Linked DNA regions of Homo sapiens: regions 2, 3, 4, 5, 6 and 7 are each linked to region 1. Evidence: promoter capture Hi-C in 16 types of primary human blood cells and fetal thymus (Javierre and others, 2016). All regions are on one chromosome and are shown on one strand. The core of a region is centred on a gene start or on the middle of the fragment in contact, and the rest is flanking DNA. Distances in the headings are between cores, read along the strand shown. Region 1 holds the start of ALDH1L2 (aldehyde dehydrogenase 1 family member L2). Region 2 overlaps TXNRD1 (thioredoxin reductase 1). Region 3 holds the start of TXNRD1-AS1 (TXNRD1 antisense RNA 1). Region 4 overlaps TXNRD1 (thioredoxin reductase 1). Region 5 overlaps LOC105369947 (a long non-coding RNA gene). Region 6 has its middle 3.1 kb from the start of LINC02385. Region 7 overlaps TXNRD1 (thioredoxin reductase 1).

Region 1 (2,700 bases), core at 78-2,577:
ACTTCCTTCTGGTCACCAAAAAAGACAAGTCAGTGAAAGGTGTTGACAGAGGAGGCCAACAAAACAGGCTCAGGCATTGGGCACAGCCCGTTGCTTTCTGTGCTATCCATCTGGGATCCCATGTGCCACGTGGTGGGGGAAGCTAATGAGGGGTCCAGGAGAGCAGGCCAAAGTCCTAGCAGAGCAGGTCTTCCCCACCCCCACCCCTCGTTTTATAAAAGGTGACTATACCTCAAAGTAACTAGAACTGGTTGCAAAGAGTAAAACGAATTCTTATTATTTGGGGTTGTCTGGGATACAGAAAGCTTTTCCTTTGATGCAAGTTTGGGCCAGTTTTTGGTGCTACTCAAGACTTCTCTCTGCCTCCAAGTTTTTTACATCTGAATATATACATATGTACATATGGCTTTGGCATGGCCGAGAAAAAGAATCGATAAGCAAATTCTTTTATGTACTTCCTATAAAAGATACGATACATAAGACAGTTTTTATTTTTTTTTTTTCTCTCTCTCTCTTCCCTAAACAGTCCCGAGGCCCCCTGGGTGCTGAAGGCAGCACCGCAGTGCAACGTGTCCTCTCTCGGTTCCATTTCTGGAGGAGCTGATGCAATTCCAAGGCGCGGGGCTGGGCCAGAGCTCGGTTCTTGTGCTACAGTAGAATAGTGTTCCAGCGTGGCTGCCTCTGCAGCGCCTGGCAATTCTAGAAATTTTGCCATCTGCAGCTCAGCTCAGGAATACTGAGCTTGCAGCCATCAGCTTTGAGTGCCATTATCTGAACCGGCCCTGCGTGCCAGTCTCGAGCGCTTACACCTCCCAGGCCGCCAACGAGGACCCTATTGACTTGATACTCCCCTCCTCCAGGAGACAGTCTCGGTTCCATATGGCTCCAGCTCTTGACCAGGGATCTCATGATTGAAGTGAAAAAGGAAAGGAAGCAGACTCTGTCCTCCTTACCAAGTGACTGTTCCCACCTTGCCATCCCAGCCAGACTTGACACGTCCAAAAACTGCATCCTCAGCCCCCTCCCGGCAGAAGACAATGGCCTGCGTGCCAGTTCCCATCCGGGACCCTCCCCAAGCCCTCCTCTGAGGTCTCTCTGTTTTTGTTTGTTTGTTTGTTTGTTTTAAACGCTGTCTTGGTGTTTAGCAAAGTCTAAGCATCGCTGCTCATCCCCAGCCCCACCGCCCCGGCCCTCCCGCCCCGGAGTCTGGAAACCAGGACAGGGTGACAGCCGGGACGCTCGCCCGGGCCGGACTCACCCGGCCAGTGGAGAAGCGCCGGAGCGCCTGGCTGCCCCGCCGCAGCATGCTGGAGAGGAGCGCTAGCACTGGCGACGCGGCAGCGCGGGAGGCAGGCGGGCGGCGCAGCCTGGGCGCGGCCTGGGCGCGGCCTGCAGTCTGGATGCCCCGGACTGCCTGGCTCGCGGCTCGCCGCTCTCGGCCTCTGCTAGTCCGCACCCCTCCCAAAGCCCACAGCCCGCGGCCCGCCCCACCCTACCAGCTGCAAGGCCCCGCCCCCTAGCTGTCAAGACCCCGCCCCCAGCTGGAAGGCCCCGCCCCGCCAGCTGGCTGCGTTCGGACAGCCAACCTGGTGCGACCCGGCGGAGCGCGTGGGCTTCCTGGAGCCTGTGGGCCCTGACCCTGGTGCCAAGAGCGCACCCAGTCCCAGGGACCGCGCCTCTCCGCTGCCTGGACTTTCCGCCAATTCCAGCCAAGGTCCAGGTGCTTTCTAACTGTGGGACCCTCTACCAGTTACTCAGCCCCGCAGCAGTGTATACGGATCTACCTTATTAGTGGTCAATCTGACATCCCAAGTGCTGTCCATAGCACAGCCCGTAAAAGGCACGCCTGTAGACAGATAGGTAGTGGGGGCGCCTTCGCTGTGGAGGGATCCTGATGCCTACCTCGTAGGACGGTAGGCCGGGCGCGGTGGCTCCCGCCTGTAATCCCAGCACTTTGGGAGGCCGAGGAGGGAAGATGGCCTGAGCTCAGGAGTTCGAGACCAGCCTGGCCACCATGGTGAAACCCCGTCTCTACTAAAAATAAAAAATAATAAAATAATAAAATAATTAGCCGGGCGTGATGTCGCATGCCTGCAGTCCCAGCTACTCGGGAGGCTGAAGCACGAGGATCACTTGAGCCGGGGAGGCGGAGGTTGCAGTGGAGCTGAGATCATGCCACTGCACTTCAGCCTGGACAACAGAGCGAGACTCTGTCTTAAAAATAAATAAATAAATTGGTGCAAAAGTAATTGTGGTTTTTGCCACTGAAAATAATGGCAAACCCGCAATTACTTTTGCATCAACCTAATAGATACGTGCCCTTCTCCCTCACCTCTCTGGAAAAAACGCTCAGACCTGCTTTAGCTGGACGTTTATCTCAAGCCAGACTTCTTAGCCCAGCATTCAGGGCCGTCTGCAATTTGCCATTTTCTCTTATTTCTCACTGCTCTTTTGCATATGTAATTCTGCTTGACTGCAGTTCTTGCCTATTCCTTCTTGGACAATGTTTCCCAGAAAAGCTTGTCATCTGTCACTTGTAATTATCTTGGCACGACCGTTTCTTTTCTGAAAGGTACCGCTTACATGCTGCCTCCTGGAGGCGCTTTTTTCTGATTCTTTTCTCTCTTAGTCTCCTTATTCCCCATAAATAATTGTTCACTCCTCTTAACAGGAAATAATCTTTGTCTATGCATCTGTTAT
Region 2 (2,700 bases), core at 176-2,675, 840 kb before region 1:
TGTTGCTGATCCTTGTTTTGTTTTTCAGAGTCAAGGAAACTTATTTTGAACTATTTACAGCCTTAAAAAAAAAGATGTTGTGGGTTTTTCATAGATGACCTTTATCAGGTAGAAAAGTTTCCTTTTATTCCTAGTTTGTTGAGTGTTTTTTATCATGAAAGGGTGTTAGACTCTGTCAAATGTTTGTATCTGTTGAAATAACTGTGTGGTTTTCATTCTTTATTCTATTAATATGATGTATTGCATTGATTGATTCTCATATGTTTAATCAACCTGTGCAAGGTTTATCCTGGGATAAATTTCACTCAGTTGTGGTGTATAAAATTTTTATATATTGCTGGATTTGGTTTGTTAATGTTTTGTGGATAATTTTTTTTGTCTATATTTACAAAGGGCATTGGTCTGTGGTTTTCTTTTCTTTTTTTTTGCGACAGAGTCTTGCACTGTTGCCCAGGCTAGAGTGCAATGGTGTGATCTCAGCTCACTGCAACCTTTGCCTCCCGGGTTCAAGTGATTCTCCTGTCTCAGCCTCCCAAGTAGCTGGGATTACAGATGCCCGCCACCACACCCTTTTCATGTGATGCCCTTGTCTGGTTTTGGAATCAGGGTAATACCAATCTCATAGAATGAATTGGAAAGTATCCCCTCCTCTTCTGTTTTTGGAAAGAGTGTGAAAAATTGCTGATAATTCTGTGTTAGACGTTTGGGAGAATTTATCAGCAACAATCATCTGAGCCTGGGCTTTTCTTTGTGGGAATTTTTTTTTTTTTTTTGAGACGGAGTTTCGCTCTTGCTCCACAGGCTGGAGTACAATGGCGCGATCTCGGCTCACTGCAACCTCTGCCTCCTGGGTTCAAGCGATTCTTCTGTCTCAGCCTCCTGGGTAGCTGGGATTACAGGCGTGTGCCACTACAACCGGCTAATTTTTTGTCTTTTTAGTAGAGACAGGGTTTCACCATATTGGTCAGGCTGGTCTCAAACTCCTGACCTCAGATGATCCTCCTGCCTCGGCCTCACGAAGTACTGGGATTACACGTGTGAGCCACTGCACCTGGCCAAGAGTTTTTATTGCTAATTCAATCTCTTGTCTATTCAAGATTATAAGTCTATTTAGCTTCTCATTCCTTTTTTTTCCCTAGACTCAAGTGATTCTCATGCCTCAGCCTCCCAAGTAACTGGGATTACAGGTATGTGCCACCATGCCTGGCTAAATTTTGTATTTTTAGTAGAGTCAGGGGTTTCACCTTGTTGGCCATGCTGGTCTCCAACTCCTAGCCTCAGGTGATCCACCCACCTTGGCCTCCCAAAGTGCTAGGATTACAGGCATGAGCCACCACACCCAGCCTCATTTCTTCTTGACTCAGTTTGGGTAATCATGTCTTTCTAGGAATTTGTTCATTTCATGTAGATTATCTAATTCGTTGGCATATAATTGAATTTTTTATACTGTTAATATGAGCAGTCTAAACCAGCCTTGCATTCCCAGGACAAACCCCACTAGCTCGTGGAATATTATTATTCCTTTTATATATTGCTGGATTCAATTTGCCATTATTTTGTTGAAGAATTTTGCATCTTTGTTTATGAGGGATATTGATTTACAGTTTCCTTTTCTTGTACTGTCTCTGTCTAGTTTGAGTATCAGGATGCTACTGACCTCATAAAATAAGTTTGAAAATGGCCCCTCCCCTTGTATTTTCTGGACAAGATTGTATAGATTGGTAGGGTATCTTTTATTAAGTTTTATTTTCCTCCAGATATCCTGTTTGTAGGTGTGTGTGAGAAACAGAAAATGTTACTGAATCAGAGAGAGTCTAAGTACCATTGTTTTCTGCAGTTTTCTCTTAAACCTTGGGGTTAAAAGAAATCTGTTGAAATACAGTGTAACCACATGTCTTATTTCTCAGCTTTTTGTGAGAGATCTCAACTGGGAAGATTGAGGTAGTTTCTTTTAAGCCCTGTTGTTGGTCACATTGACTGAACATTTTAGTGAACTAGGATTACTCCACTTACTGGATATTCTTAATACTAAGGTAACAATATGAAAAAAGAACATATTTTCTGTATATATGTATAAAGCATATTTAGTGAAATTGTGAGAGTTATTGGTCTAGTATAGGCAAGAGAACTTTTTAGCTTAATTGAGTTCTCAACTGGTATATAGTATGTGTTTATATGAAGGATCAGTTTAGTAATTGTCCACAGATTCCTTTTATATTTTAATGACTGTAATTCAGGTTTTACAATCAGAAAAAGCACCTACATTGTCTTCTGTGTATATGTTTTTTGTCCAGAAAAGGTATCTTTGTGGAATTTTTTTTTTTTTTTGGAGTGTTGCTCTGTCACCCAGGCTGGAGTGCAATGGCACTATCTCGACTCACTGCAACTTCTGCCTCCTGGGTTCAAGCGATTCTCTTGCCTCAGCCTCCTGAGTAGCTGGGACTACAGGCGCCCGCCACCATGCCTGGCTAATTTTTGCATTTTTAGTAGAGATGGGGTTTCACCGTGTTAGCCAGGATGGTCTCGATCTCCTGACTTCGTGATCCGCCCGCCTCGGCCTCTCAAAGTGTTGGGATTACAGGCATGAGTCACTGCGCCCAGTTTTTTTTTTTCTTTTTTTGAGACAGAGTCTCACTCTGTCGCCCAGGCTGGAGTGCAGTGGCATGGTCTCGGCTCACTGCAACCTCTGCCTCACAGGTT
Region 3 (2,700 bases), core at 36-2,535, 800 kb before region 1:
AGAGGCTTAGTAACTTGGCTTTGCAGTTAGTAATAGAACCTGGATTTGACTTCAAAGTCTACACTGCATAATAAGGGTATATTCAACAGACTTTGGTTCTGCAATTATCTCTTTTTGCTCCTTCTTTGGAAATTGCCAAAGTTCCCTCTACTGGATTATTCCTTTAGCATAAAAACATGCTGTAATAATTTCCTTCTTAGACAAACCAAAAAAACCAAAAAGTCTGGCCAGGCACGGTGGCTCACCCCTGTAATCCCAGCACTTTGGGAGGCCGAGGAGGGTGGATCACGAAGTCAGGAGTTGAAGACCAGCCTGGCCAACATGGTGAAACCCTCTCTCTACTGAAAATACAAAAATTAGCTGGGTGTGGTGGCATGCACCTGTAGTCCCAGCTACTCGAGAGGCTGAGGCAGGAGAATTGCTTGAACCCAGGAGGCAGAGGTTGCAATGAGCTGAGATCGTGCCTCTGCACTCCAGCCTGGGTGACAGAGTGAGACTCTGTCTCAAAAAAAAAAAAAAAAAAAAATTCCTCTATCCTACATCCCTCTTTAGCTCCTTTCCTATTGTTGTTTTGTTTTGTTTTGTTTTTATAGCAAAACCCCTTTAAGAGTTGCCTATACTTACTCCCTCCATTTCCTTATTTTCTGTTTCTTGCTGAACTTCTTCTAATTAGGATTTCTTACCTACCACCATTTTCATAAGTGACCTCCATGACTCAGCCCTTACCTTATAGGATTTCTTGGCAGTGCTTGAAATAGTTGATCTTCCTTTTTGGAGCACTTCTTCATTGGCTTCTGAGACACCACACAGTCTTGGTTTTCCTCCTACCTCCTGCCAGCTCCTTCTTAGGCTCCATTGCTGGGTTCTTTTCCCCTTTTGCAGTTTGAGCGTGCCAGGGCTCTGTCCTGGGCCATCTTTATTTCTCTAAATACATTAACTCCTGGGTAATTTCATCTAGTCCCATGGAGTGACAGTTAATTTTATGTGTCAACTTGGCTAGCATACGGTGCCCAGTTGTTTGGCAGATAAAAGCATAGATGTTGCTGTGAAGGTATTTTTTAGATGTGACTTACAATGAAATCAGTAGGCTTTGAGTAAAGCTAGTGACCCTCCATAATGTGGATGGGCTTCATCCAATTAGTTGAAGACCTTAGAGAAAAGATGGAGGTTTCCCAAAGAGGAAGCAATTCTGCACCCAGACCACCGTTAGTCTCAAGATTGCCACATCAATGCCTGCTTGAATTTCCAGCCTATCAGCCAGCCTTGGAGTTTTCAGACTTATCAGCCCTCACAACTGTGTGAGTCAATTCTTTAAAAAAAAGAAAAGAAAAAAATCTCTCTATATATACATGTATCCTATTGGTTCTGTTTCTCTGAAGAGCTGTGACTAATACACATGGTATTAAATATCTTTTATGTTTGACACCAAATGTTTATTTCTAGCCTTGACTTCTCCCTTGAACTCCATACTTACATATCCAACTGCTTAGTCAACCTCTCCATTTGGATAATAATAGATCTGTTAACCCATACTATGGATTTGTCCCAAACTATTGTTTTCCCCCACCTCCCATCTTTCTTCCTCCTCTCTGGGTGTTCCTGCTTTTCATTGAAGAGTGCTATTATTTACCCCATTGCTAAAGCCAGAAATCTAGCGTTATCATTGATTCTCTTTCTCTTACATCTCTTATTCCATCCATCTGTACAACTGTACAACATATATCTGTGCAATTAGCTTTACCTTCAAATGTATTTTTTAACCTCACTAATCAGCCTTTATCATCTCTAGCTTGGACCAGGACAGTAACTTCCTAGCAGGTCTGTATATCTCCATATCTCCACTTTTTTTTTTTTTTTTTTTCTTTTTGAGATGGAGTCTCACTGTGTCGCCCGGGCTGGAGTGCAGTGGTGGGATCTCGGCTCACTGCAAACTCCGCCTCCCGGGTTCACGCCATTCTCCTGCCTCAGCCTCCCCAGTAGCTGGGACTACAGGCGCCTGCTACCACGCCCGGTTAATTTTTTGTATTTTTAGTAGAGATGGGGTTTCACTGTGTTAGCCAGGCTCATCTCAATCTCCTGACCTCGTGATCCGCCCGCCTCAGCCTCCTGAAGTGCTGGGATTACAGACATGAGCCACCGAGCCCGGCCATATCTCCACTTTTAAGTCCCTGCCCTCCTTAGCCTATTTTCCACACAACTGAGCAATTATTTTATCATACAACAATCATTTCCTTCTCTTCTCTTCACACTCTGGCATCTTACCACATTTAAAATGAAATCCAAAATCCTGACTATGGCCTGATGATGGATGTGACCCCTGGCTATTCCTCTGACCTCACTTCCTACCACTTTTTTTCTCACTCATTAGGCTTTAGACATACTGGTTACTTTGTGGATTCTTGGATAAGTCAAGCAGACTCCTAGCTTAGGGCTTTAGTATGTTGAAGCCAGAATAAAAATGTGAGACAAGTCTCTAAATTAAAATTTTTTATTTGGAAAGAAAGAATAGCAATTTGGGGCATATATGCAGACAGGGTGGTCTTCAGTATGTCTGAAGAACAAAGAGAAGGTTAGAGGTTTTAGAAACAGGAGAGCTGTTACATATTGCTCTTCAAGAAAGTTCTTTGGGACTAGTTAGGGTTTGGGGAGCTAGCAAGCTCTGGTGAGTGATGGCAGTGGGCAAAATTAGTCCTAGAGTTT
Region 4 (2,700 bases), core at 72-2,571, 750 kb before region 1:
GAGGAAACAATTACTTATGGAGTTAGAGCTGTAACAGCAATTGTTAGCAATTTGGGGTGATTCCTTTAATTTTTTTCCTATATAATTGTGATACTATGATACTGTACATTAAATTTTGTAACCCATGTTTATTTTTAAAATTATATTATTTATCACAACATCGAAGAACACTTGTTATGTCTTCATAATCAGTTTGCTCGTAAAAGGTAGCGAATCATGTTTTGAACTGAGGCTAGCAGCTGGAGGAAAAAAAAAATCCATTTAGTCAACCAGCAATTAAATTAGTAAGGATGCTGTCGTTCCACCCTTCCTTCCTCCTTTCCTTCCCTATCTCCTTCCTTCTTTCCTTCCCTATCTCCTTCCTTCATTGCTTTTAGTGAATAATGCCAAAGGAGGAAATGTCTTTTGGAAGCATTTAGCAAGAGAACTAGATAATTACCTTAATTGATCCTGGCACCTTATTTGTTTCTTGCCCAAGTTGTCATTCACAGTGGATAACAAGATAGTATTGAGTTTGGGTGTGTGTGTGTTTTCAATGTATGACAGCAGGTAATTAAATGGCTTATTTCTGTCATTCCCTTGCTCTTTTTTGTTATTAGTTAGGGTGTACTATTTTGAGGTAGAGATATACATAATTAAGGGATGAGCTTATAGCAAAAGTGCCTGACAGCAAGGAGTTGAAAGTCATTTACCTTTTGACCAGATTCCTATTTATTCCATGAATTTTATTATTTAATGAAAGTCTACTTATTAAAGAGTCTCTACTGTCTTTCACCATATATGTTTGACAGACTTAATGTTTAAAATAATGGGTCTAAATTTTGCTTTTGTATCTTCTTAGGTTTACCATAGTTACTTTTGGCCATTGGAATGGACGATTCCGTCAAGAGATAACAACAAATGTTATGCAAAAATAATCTGTAATACTAAAGACAATGTAAGTTTAATTCTCAATCCTTTCCAGTAATTTTATTTAGTTGTTGTTTTTTGTTGTTGTTTTTTTTTTAGATGGAGTCTTGCTCTGTTGCCCAGGCTGGAGTGCAGTGGCGCTATCTCTGCTCACTGCAACCTCCGCCTCCCGGGTTCAAGTGATTCTCCTGCCTCAGCCTCCCAACTAACTGGGATTACAGACTTGCGCCACCACACTGGCTAATTTTTGTAGACGGGGGTTTCACCATGTTGGCCAGGCTGGTCTTGAACACCTGACCTCGTAATCTGCCTGTCTCGGCCTCCCAAGGTGCTGGAATGTACAGGCGTGAGCCACCATACCCGGCTTTAGTTTTTAATATATAGCTTAGTTGGTCACATGGTGCAGATGGCATTCCTTCAGTATTTCGCGTGCCAGTTGTCTCAGCTGATAGATATCAGCAGCTGGCAAGGACCTTGGCTGCACTGCCTGCTGCCCCCTCATCTTCACTGGCACAGGGCCCTACACTTAGTCAACAGGCAGCCAAAACTTACTGAGTGAAGGAACCAAAGGCACAACTTGAGAACTGTCTATGTTTGTGTTTATAGAAGAGGAACAATAAAGTCATCGACTATCTAAATATAATGAATAACAAAAAAGAACAGGAGCAATGCACGTTTGATCCTCAGCAGCTGGCACTACTAAGAAAGAGCTCTTAATTGAGTTCTAAGATTTCATTGCCTGATGCTACATGTAATGCTAGTCTGGTGTTATTACGTGTAAATCTAATGTATTTTAAGTGCTTTTTAGTAGTCCTCCCACAGATATACTTTATTCATACCATAAACCCCCAACTGTCCAGGTGAATAAGAGTACAATATGCAATATATTACAGTCCTTTTTTTTTTTTTTTTTTTGAGACGGAGTCTTGCTCTGTTGCCCAGGCTGGAGTGCAGTGGCGTGATCTTGGTTCACTGCAACCTTCGCCTCCCAGGTTCAAGTGATTTTCCTGCCTCAGCCTCCCAAGTAGCTGGGATTACAGGCACCCACCACCATGCCCAGCTATTCTGTATTTTTAGTAGAGACGGGGTTTCACCATGTTGGCCAGGCTGGTCTCGAACTCCTGACCTCAGGTGATCCGTCTGCCTTGGTCTCCCAAAGTGCTGGGATTACAGGTGTGAGCCACCGCGCCCGGCCTATTACAGTACTTTTTTAGCAGAAACCTGTGAAAGCCTGTGAGCAAACTCTATACCTCACAGGGTTTTTTTCCATATATATGAAATGAGGGATTGGATAATTCATATTTTTTAAAGTTTTTTGACTGTGGGACACTGGTATATTCATATACACACACTCTCTTTAATATTGACTCTTAAGAAAACTGATCTTTTTAACTTAGCTAACACTTTTTAAAGAAACGACCTCAGTAAAAATATAAATGATGTTAAAGAATCTGTATGTTAAAAGCCTAGTAAACTGATAATGTTTTAATCTTGAAATTTGAATATAATTAAGCCATGTATCCTATTTGGAAACTACTGCTTTAGGCAGTAGGACAGTTACAGGTTGGTTTTTTGGTAAAACCAAGGGTTTTAGAAAACATTTTCTTGAATCCTCTGCAAAAAAGATTCAAATGAATATACTAGGATAACCCATAATGAGCTACACAGCTAACATAAATAACAATTGTATATATAGTTGTCTTTTTCTTTTTAGGCAAATTTTCTCAAAAGTTTATTTATATGAGTATACATTAGATATCACTTTTACTGCAGACAAAAGGAGAAAATGTC
Region 5 (2,700 bases), core at 163-2,662, 940 kb before region 1:
ATCCTGTCACTCCACTGCTCAAAAATCCCCTATTAACTCCTCATTTCTCTCAAAGTAAAAGACAAAGACTTTCCAGTGGCCTTGTAAGACAGAGTGGCAAGTTCCTTCATTCCAAATTGAGCAACAAAAAGATACTGATTGTTCTTTGGTCATAGTGACAAGAAACAACCAGAATCTGTTTTAATCAATCAATAACAATCTCCTGATCAGTGACTTGCTTCTGAAAATTAGCCAATCAGCAACAGCCACACTCTAGTAATCCTTCTTCCACATCTAAAGTTCAACTCATCTCTAAACAGTCCAGCTTCTAAGAGTTCCCCAACCTCCGAACCCCATGCTTCCCAAAACACTGTATAAGATTCACAGATTCCTTTGTTCAGAGACACTGTCTTACAAGTACTGCTGTCCTCTGGTTAGCAAGAAATATGTTCAGCACTTAATTGTTGCAGACGTGAATGGTGGCCTCTTCACTGGGCAACAACCTATGGGATCTTTGATCTATTCCCTTTCCGCTCCCCCTCTACCCTCATCTCCTCCTACCTTTTCCTTTGCTAATTGCACTCCTTGCAGTCCTTATTTCTGCCAGGAATGCTCCTGCCTCAGGGGCTCTGCACTGGCTGTTCCATCTGCCTAGTACATTCTCCCTCAGATAGCCACATAGCTCACTCCCTCACCTCCTTCCATGTCTTAATGGGGCCAGCCCTGATCACTTATCTAAAAATTGCAATTCCAACTCCCTACCCCCACTCAGCTATAACCCTCTAACATATTATATAGTTTCCTTATTTGTTATGTTTATGATTTATTGTCTGTCTCTTCCCACTAAAATGTAAGCCCTATGAGGACAAGGAATTTGGCTTGTTTTGTTTACCAATGCATCCCACACATCTAAAATAGTGTCCAGCATTCAGTTGGTACTCAATATTTGTTGAATGAATGGACTTTGAATGTTTCACCTTTTTAGAATATAAACTCCTTTAGTGCAAAGACCTTGTGTTCACCATTGTATTCTCAGAGCCTAAAACAGTGCCTGGCACATAGTAGGGGCTTCATAAGTATGTACTAAATGAATGCATGCACAGGTATGGTATAAAATTGTTTTAATTGATAATATAAATGACCCTGAGATTACCAAAGCCTTATGTGCCATCTTCCTCCACAGAAACACAGTTAATGAACACATTTAAAATTCCTCACATTATTATGATGTGTTAATCAAAAAATCCAAAACATATTCATCACTATTTCCCCAGGTATTGGGTAAGTTAATATACAAAGATGACTAAAAAATCCTTGATCAGCTTGAAAAAGCAGCAAGATCACTCTCGTTTCTAGGGCTGCTGAGGCTGAGGACAGGAGGAAATCCTTGTCTCTGATAGGAAAGAAGGGCAGAGAACATTCTTTTCTCATTTCCTTTATTTTTTTGCTTAAACTCTTGGGTCATTTCCAAACTGGTGTCCCTGTCCATTTAATATAACATGGCCATATTAATCTTCCTGAAAACTTGTTTTCTTAATCCTACATATGAATGCCAGGTCATAGAAAACATAGTTCTTATTGTGTTGTTACCTTTTAAAAAAATCATGAAAACAGCTCTCATCTATTATATAGTTACTACATATCAGGAACTCTGCTAAATGCTACCTGCATGTTTTCTCATTTCAGCCACACAATGACCTTATGAAATAGGTGTTATTTGCCCAACTCAAAAGACATGAAAACAAGCTCATAGTTTAAGAAACCAAGAAGTCACACAGCTGGAAACCAAGCCTCAAACCTGGCCCCAGTCCCTCTTATAAAAAAAAAAAAAAACTATTTATTCAAAGGGTCCCCATAGACTTTTCTCTAAAGAAGATACACAGATGGCCAACAAGCATATGCCAAGATGTTCAACATCATTAGTCATAAGGGAAATTCAAATCAAACCACAGTGAGATATCACTGCACACCCACCTAGATGGCCAGAATCAGAAAGATCGATAGTAACAAGTGTTGTCAAGGATATGGTGAAACTGGAACCTTCACACACTGCTGGTGGGAATGTAAAGTGGTACAGCCACTGTGGAAAACAGTCTGGTTGTTCCTCAAATAGCTAAACATAAAAGTTACCATTTGACCCAGCAATTCCACTCCTGGTGTATGCCCAAGATAAATGAAAATATATATCCATACAAAAACATATACATTTATGGCAGCTTTCTTCTTTTATTTTTATTTATTTATTTATTTCGAGACAGAGTTTCGCTCTTGTTGCCTAGGCTGAAGTGCAATGGCACGGTCTCAGCTCACTGCAACCTCCACCTCACAGCTTCAAGTGATTCACCTGCCTCAGCCTCCCAAGTAGCTGGGCAAATATGATATATCAATGCAATGGAATATCATTTGGCCATAAAAACAAATGAAGCTCTAATATATGCTACAACATGGATTAACCTTGAAATCATTATCTAAGTAAAAGGAGTCAGACACAAAGGACCACAGATTATATGATTTCATTTATATTAAATATCTAGAATAGTCAAATCCATAGAGAGAGAAGGCAGATTATTCTTTGGTGGGGGGCTAAGGGAGGAGATGGGAGAGCCCGAGGTGTGATAGCTAAAAGGTATAGAGTTTCTCTGTGAGGTGATGAAAATGTTCTAAAATTGTGAGGGCCGGGCACAATGGCTCACACCTGTAATGCCAACATTTTGGGAGGCT
Region 6 (2,700 bases), core at 135-2,634, 920 kb before region 1:
GAGGAGGTCATGGTAACTCCAGTTTATAGTGTTGCCAAACTGAGCTGGGGCCTGCTTGCCTGGCACAGTAAGGCCAAACATCCATGCTGAGATTTTGCAGTGAGAGAAAGGAGGGCATTTATTTGCAGTGTGCCATGCAAGGAGAATCTGGCAGTTCATGCTCAAGATCTGACCTCTGCAAGCCAAGGGTTTTTAAAGGTACAGGTAAATTTCAGGAAAGCAGAAGTTACAGGCAAAATTGTAAACCAATACTTGGAGGTTAAACATCAGTTTGGCCTAAAAAGGCAGGATATCCTCAACCAAGGGCTTACAGGTCATGGGTCAATTAAAAGATTTTCTGATTTGCAATTGGTTAGGGAAGGAAAGCTTCATCTAAAGACTTGGGGTCATCAGAAAACAATGTTAGGTCTGGCCCATGGGCGTGACTTCCTCCTGGCCCCTGAGGAAGAAATTTAGAACAAAGAATGGCAGCCAGAGTTCAGTCCTCAGTGTTCTCCCCTTATCTGAGGTCCGTGTGCCAGTGGATCCATTTGGCAGGGGTCTGGATTTCTAAAGAACAACTCAGGGCTATTTGTTAACATGTTATCTTTAGTTTCTATAGAGAACCAAACATCTCATGACTCTAACTTCCTTGGCTATTGTTTTAAGCTACTATTACCTTTTTGCTTATTAAGTTGCTCATTTACTTCTCAGGGCTAGCTAGGTTCCCAGGATTTCCCTTAAATGAACTCAAGATTTGCCTTTATTTCCATGCTTGAGGGTGCCTAGCAGGGACCTCTGTTCCTTCTCAATAGCTGATTGGCTGGAAGCACTAATCACAACCTTGGGCTTGCAACTGGCATCTAAAGCAGTCTTATGGGACTGGGTCCTCAACCCATGGGATCTGATGCTATCTCTAGATAGTGTCAGAATCGAATGGAATTATAGGATGCAAAGCTGGTGCCTGACGAGAATTCCTTGGTGTATGGAGAAAAACCCACACACATCTGGTGTCAGAAGTGAAGTATTAAGTGGTGTGAGTAGAGAGAAAAACCACTGAGTAGACAAAGTGGTTTAGGCTGCTGGGAGAGGACTGCTTGTCTGTCGGCCAGGACATTTCTCAGCTGGACTAGTGAGATGATTACTTTATTCTCTTAAACCTCCAAGGCTCAGATGATGCCGTGCATGACTCCAGGGAGCACCATTCACTTAGACTATAGTGAATAGCACCCCCTGCAGCTGTGCAACATGGTGGCTCAGGCCAGTTTATACACCTGTCATATTCTCTCTCTCCACTTTATCCCCACCACCACCCCGTACGACCACCACCATGCTCAGAAAACCCTTGCCTAGCACGCTCCTGGACTATTCATGTCAAAACAACTGTGGGAAATGATGCAAATAGCAACATTAATATCCACAAGCTAAAATACAGCATGGCTTCATTTTCTTCTTGTTTCCTTTCTCCGTGATATCAAGTTGTGTTTCTGCCTGTGAGAAAGACACTCACCCATCCAGTCCCAAAGAATGGACTTACAGGCACGAAGAACAGCAAAAGTGAGACTTTTTTTTTTTTTTTTTTTTGAGATGGAGTTTCACTCTTGTCACCCAGGCTGGAGTGAGTGCAGTGGCACAATCTTGGCTCACTGCAACCTCTGCCTCCCGGTTCAAGCAATTCTCCTGCCTCACCCACCCGAGTAGCTGTGATTACAGGCACCTGTCACCACGCCCAGCTAATTTTTGTATTTTTAGTAGAGATGGGGTTTCACCATGTTGGCCAGGCTGGTCTCGAGCTCCTGACCTCAGGTGATCCACCTGCCTCAGCCTCCCAAAGTGCTGGGATTACAGGCGTGAGCCACCATGCCCGGCCTCCAGTGGTATTTCTGGATCCAGCTTCTGTGTGGTGACCAACTGGGTGTGACAATAGCTCAGTTAGTGAGCAATAGAAAATAATGGAAAGACTCACACACAGTCAGCCCACAAATTCCTGCAACACCAGAGGCAGACAGGTTATAGGATACTGGGTTCCCTTATGTTCCTAAGTCATCTTATTGTGTGTCTTATTTTCCACTTGAGGCTGTTCTTTGTGGTAATTTTAATATGACTTATCTTGCCTTAAACATTTAGAGTTGGAAGGAAGGGACAGAATGTATTTTGCCCTGGGCCCTCACCTGCTGGGGAGGACTACTAGCCACAAACCCTCCCTAAAGATAACTGTGAGCACAGGGTAAGCATGCATTCCAAGCGTGACTTAATGAGAACTCTGTAATGTACCAAGAAATAAAAAGATAAGCATAGACTGACACAAAGATCAAAAGGGCAGATGAACTGTCAACTTCCAAATCAGTTTTTCCTCCAAAACATATGTTTAAAAATCTTTACTGGTAACAAGCCTGAAGGATTTTGATTTTGTGATCTCATATGTAAGCTTATCACCAACTCTGAAGGCTTAGGTCTGCTGGCATGGGTTCCATCCTTCCTTAGTGAATAAAGTACCACTTGTTGAATTGCCTCTATTGGTTCCTGGAGTGCCTCTGAGTTCTTGGAGGTCTCTGGAATTCAAGAGTCTGTTCAGTCCAATACAGCTTAGGGCAGGGGACCCCAACCACTGGGCCATGGACCAGTACTGGTTCACAGCCTGTTAGGAACCGAGAAGCACAGCAGGAGCCGAGCAGCACAGCAGGAGGTGTACAGCAGGCAAGTGAGCAAAGCTCACCTGTA
Region 7 (2,700 bases), core at 69-2,568, 780 kb before region 1:
AGGCAGGTGGATCACGAGATGAGGAGTTTGAGACTAGCCTGGCCAACATGGAGAAACCCCATCTCTACTAAAAATACAAAACTTAGCTGGGCGCGGTGGCACACACGTGTAATCCCAGCTACTCGGGAGGCTGAGTCAGGAGAATCACTTGAACCCGGGAGGCGGAGGTTGTAGTGAGCTGAGATCACACCATTGCACTCTAGCTTGGGCAACCAAGCGAGACTCTATCTAAAATAAAAATAAAAAATAAAAAAAATTAAATTTTTTTCTGTTCCTAAAGCAACATTCAGAAGTGAAACTACTGGTTTGTATACAGTTTTTTTTTTTACATTTGCTATCTTTGGGATTGTTTGATTTATTAAGTACCTACTCAGTAGTTGAAAACACTGTCAGATATATTACATAATTTTCATTCACTGTAGTAATTATATGGTATAAATACAGTTGTCCCTCGGTATCTTCAGGGGATTGGTTCCAGGACCCTTGTGTATACCCAAATTCATACATACTCAAGTCCCAAAGTCCACCCTGTGGAACCAGCATATATGGAAAGTCAGCTCTCTGTATTCACCGGATGTGAAACATCACATCTCACAAATACAGTATTTATTTCTTTATTTCTCACAAGCTTTTTCCTCTTTAAGGAGCAGGCAGACCTGTATTTTTTATTGCTTTTGGTATAAGTGGATCTGTGCAATTCAAAGCTGTTTCCTTCAAGGGTCAACTGCAGTAGTATTCCCGTCTTATAAATAAAGACACTGGAGGCTGAGAGGTTAAGCAAGCTGGCTAAGATAATACTAATAGGTAATAGGTCAAGATTGGAACCCAGATCGTCCCCTCCCACAGTCTGTGGTCTTTTCAGAAACTAATTTTCATTAAAAAAAAAAATACAGATATCTGTCTTATCATAGCAAAGTTCACCTTTAATAATAACAAAACACAAAATATATACACACAAACATAACTTTAAAGAAAATTACGATGAAAGAGAAACTGCCAGGCACAGTGGCTCACGCATGTAATCCCAGCATTTTGGGAGGCTGAGGCGGGCGGATCACGAGGTCAGGAGTTCGAGACCAGCCTGGTCAACATGCTGAAACCCTGTCTCTACTAAGAATACAAAAATTAGCCAGGCGTGGTGACTCGTGCCTGTAATCCCAGCTACTCGGGAGGCTGAGGCAGGAGAATCACTTGAGTCCGGGGGGTGTAGGTTGCAGTGAGCCGAGATCGTGCCATTGCACTCCAGCCTGGGTGACAAGAACAAGACTCCGTCTCAAAAAAAAAAAAAAAAAAGTTAAGATGAAAGAGAAACTATACCTAATGTCCTGCTAATTCTGGCAAATCAAACTAGGAATTTTACCACATTTCTTCACAACTCAATATTAAACAGAAGCCATGGTGGTATGAAGGGAGAAAAGCTGCTATGAAAGAAGGAACAGAAAAGTTTAGGGAGGTAGCTATTAGGATAAGTGTATATGTTAGAGTGTGGGACTCAAACCTGACTGATTCCTGGCTTTGGCTCCAAAAAGTCTCTTAAAAATCCATTTGTTATAGGTAAGTGTTAACAGCAAAACCTCACTGGAGAAAAATAGTGGACTCGTGACTTCTTCCTTTATTTGGTTACAGGGAGACATGTGACCTTTGTCATCCACCCTATCACGTTTGTGTTGAGCAGTATGGGTTGTGGGAAAGAGCTCAAGAATGCTTGGAATTAACCTAAACTCCTAGAAAAGGAACTGAAAATATAGGAGAAAAGGGTGAAGAAAAGAGGAAAGGAAATGGAGGTCTGTATTGAACCCTGGGTAGCAACTCTTGAGCGAAGAAAGAGGAAAAAGGGGAAAGAGGGGAGCTAAATTATCTCTGAGGCAACTCAGTCTCATGGTTGCCTGAACTAGTCTATACTGCGGGAATAAGGTAGACGCCACTGGTTTCTTTGAAGTACCAGTGCGCTTCTTGCTTTCTATTCCTGGTCACAGACAAATTTATCAGTAGTGCAGTTTCTTCTTTTTAAGCTTCATTTAAATAATTATTAGTAGCACTTGGACCTTAGGTTAGGAAATCACTGTTTAATGACTTAAAGATTAACCGGCATGGAAATCCCATTCTTTATATGATTGGGGAGAGTTATTGAACTTGAGATTGTTTTACTTTGTAGCAATGTCTAAAGGCAGATTTGTTTTGTTTTGTTTTGTTTTTGAGGCGGGGTTTCGCTCTTGTTGCCCAGGCTGGAGTGCAATGGTGCAATCTTGTCTCACCCGCAACCTCTGCCTCCCAGGTTGAAGTAGCAGGGATTACAGGCATGTGCCACCACGCCCAGCTAATTTTCTATTTTTAGTAGAGACGTGGTTTCTCCATATTGATCAGGCTGGTCTCAAACTCCTGACCTCAGGTGAGCCACCCACCTCGGCCTCCCAAAGTGCTGGGATTACAGGTGTCAGCCACCGCACCTGGCCTAAAGGCAGATTTTTAAAGGTGGAACATAATGCAAGTCTGCCTTTCTTAGGATGATCTAAGTTACATGTTAATAAAGTTCTTGGAGATCTAGCATAGAATGCATTCAGCACTGTAAATCACAACTTAATGTTTGCCTCGATATGCTCTGTTGCTCTGAGCAAGTTGTGTGGGCTGTTATCTCCTGAGAAATCCCTGTAAATGGTATTAGTAATACTTTATAAGCAGGTTGGGAGAATATAGTTTTCT

What was found. The method cuts DNA at HindIII sites, captures the fragments that hold promoters and counts their contacts. A CHiCAGO score of 5 or more calls a contact.
Region 2: a fragment that was not itself captured here is called in contact with the fragment with the promoter of ALDH1L2 in region 1 in 1 of 17 cell types (activated CD4 T cells); the score reaches 5.0 in activated CD4 T cells.
Region 3: the fragment with the promoter of TXNRD1-AS1 here is called in contact with the fragment with the promoter of ALDH1L2 in region 1 in 5 of 17 cell types (neutrophils, M1 macrophages, M0 macrophages and 2 more); the score reaches 6.2 in neutrophils.
Region 4: a contact is called between a fragment that was not itself captured here and the fragment with the promoter of ALDH1L2 in region 1, in 5 of 17 cell types (total B cells, naive B cells, neutrophils and 2 more). The highest score is 7.9, in total B cells.
Region 5: a contact is called between a fragment that was not itself captured here and the fragment with the promoter of ALDH1L2 in region 1, in 5 of 17 cell types (naive CD8 T cells, monocytes, non-activated CD4 T cells and 2 more). The highest score is 7.9, in naive CD8 T cells.
Region 6: a contact is called between a fragment that was not itself captured here and the fragment with the promoter of ALDH1L2 in region 1, in 15 of 17 cell types (naive B cells, total CD8 T cells, total B cells and 12 more). The highest score is 11.5, in naive B cells.
Region 7: a fragment that was not itself captured here is called in contact with the fragment with the promoter of ALDH1L2 in region 1 in 1 of 17 cell types (total B cells); the score reaches 5.1 in total B cells.

Annotation. Positions count from the first base shown.
Region 1 is chr12:105,083,131-105,085,830 of GRCh38, forward strand. ALDH1L2 (aldehyde dehydrogenase 1 family member L2) reads right to left here and starts at 1,328. Exons shown (of 23, transcript NM_001034173.4): 1 at 1,259-1,328. The coding sequence starts at 1,306. RefSeq lists enhancers at 171-971, 466-705 and a silencer at 1,206-1,635. The HindIII fragment of the contact is 2,214 bases long and covers 304-2,517 here.
Region 2 is chr12:104,238,438-104,241,137 of GRCh38, forward strand. The region is part of intron 1 of TXNRD1 (thioredoxin reductase 1); the gene reads left to right. Among named protein-coding and RNA genes, the nearest start is that of TXNRD1, 24 kb to the left of the region's middle. The HindIII fragment of the contact is 7,102 bases long and covers 1-2,700 here.
Region 3 is chr12:104,279,558-104,282,257 of GRCh38, forward strand. TXNRD1-AS1 (TXNRD1 antisense RNA 1) reads right to left here and starts at 1,286. Exons shown (of 2, transcript XR_007063431.1): 1 at 727-1,286. The region is part of intron 3 of TXNRD1 (thioredoxin reductase 1); the gene reads left to right. RefSeq lists a silencer at 2,514-2,700. The HindIII fragment of the contact is 3,745 bases long and covers 1-2,700 here.
Region 4 is chr12:104,333,396-104,336,095 of GRCh38, forward strand. TXNRD1 (thioredoxin reductase 1) reads left to right here. Exons shown (of 17, transcript NM_001093771.3): 15 at 842-937. Among named protein-coding and RNA genes, the nearest start is that of EID3, 31 kb to the left of the region's middle. The HindIII fragment of the contact is 3,413 bases long and covers 1-2,700 here.
Region 5 is chr12:104,142,165-104,144,864 of GRCh38, forward strand. All of the region lies in intron 1 of LOC105369947 (a long non-coding RNA gene), which reads left to right. Among named protein-coding and RNA genes, the nearest start is that of NFYB, 5.3 kb to the left of the region's middle. The HindIII fragment of the contact is 3,300 bases long and covers 1-2,700 here.
Region 6 is chr12:104,165,529-104,168,228 of GRCh38, forward strand. No RefSeq gene overlaps it. Among named protein-coding and RNA genes, the nearest start is that of LINC02385, 3.1 kb to the right of the region's middle. The HindIII fragment of the contact is 2,041 bases long and covers 365-2,405 here.
Region 7 is chr12:104,298,493-104,301,192 of GRCh38, forward strand. The region is part of intron 4 of TXNRD1 (thioredoxin reductase 1); the gene reads left to right. Among named protein-coding and RNA genes, the nearest start is that of EID3, 3.9 kb to the right of the region's middle. RefSeq lists an enhancer at 2,506-2,675. The HindIII fragment of the contact is 1,384 bases long and covers 627-2,010 here.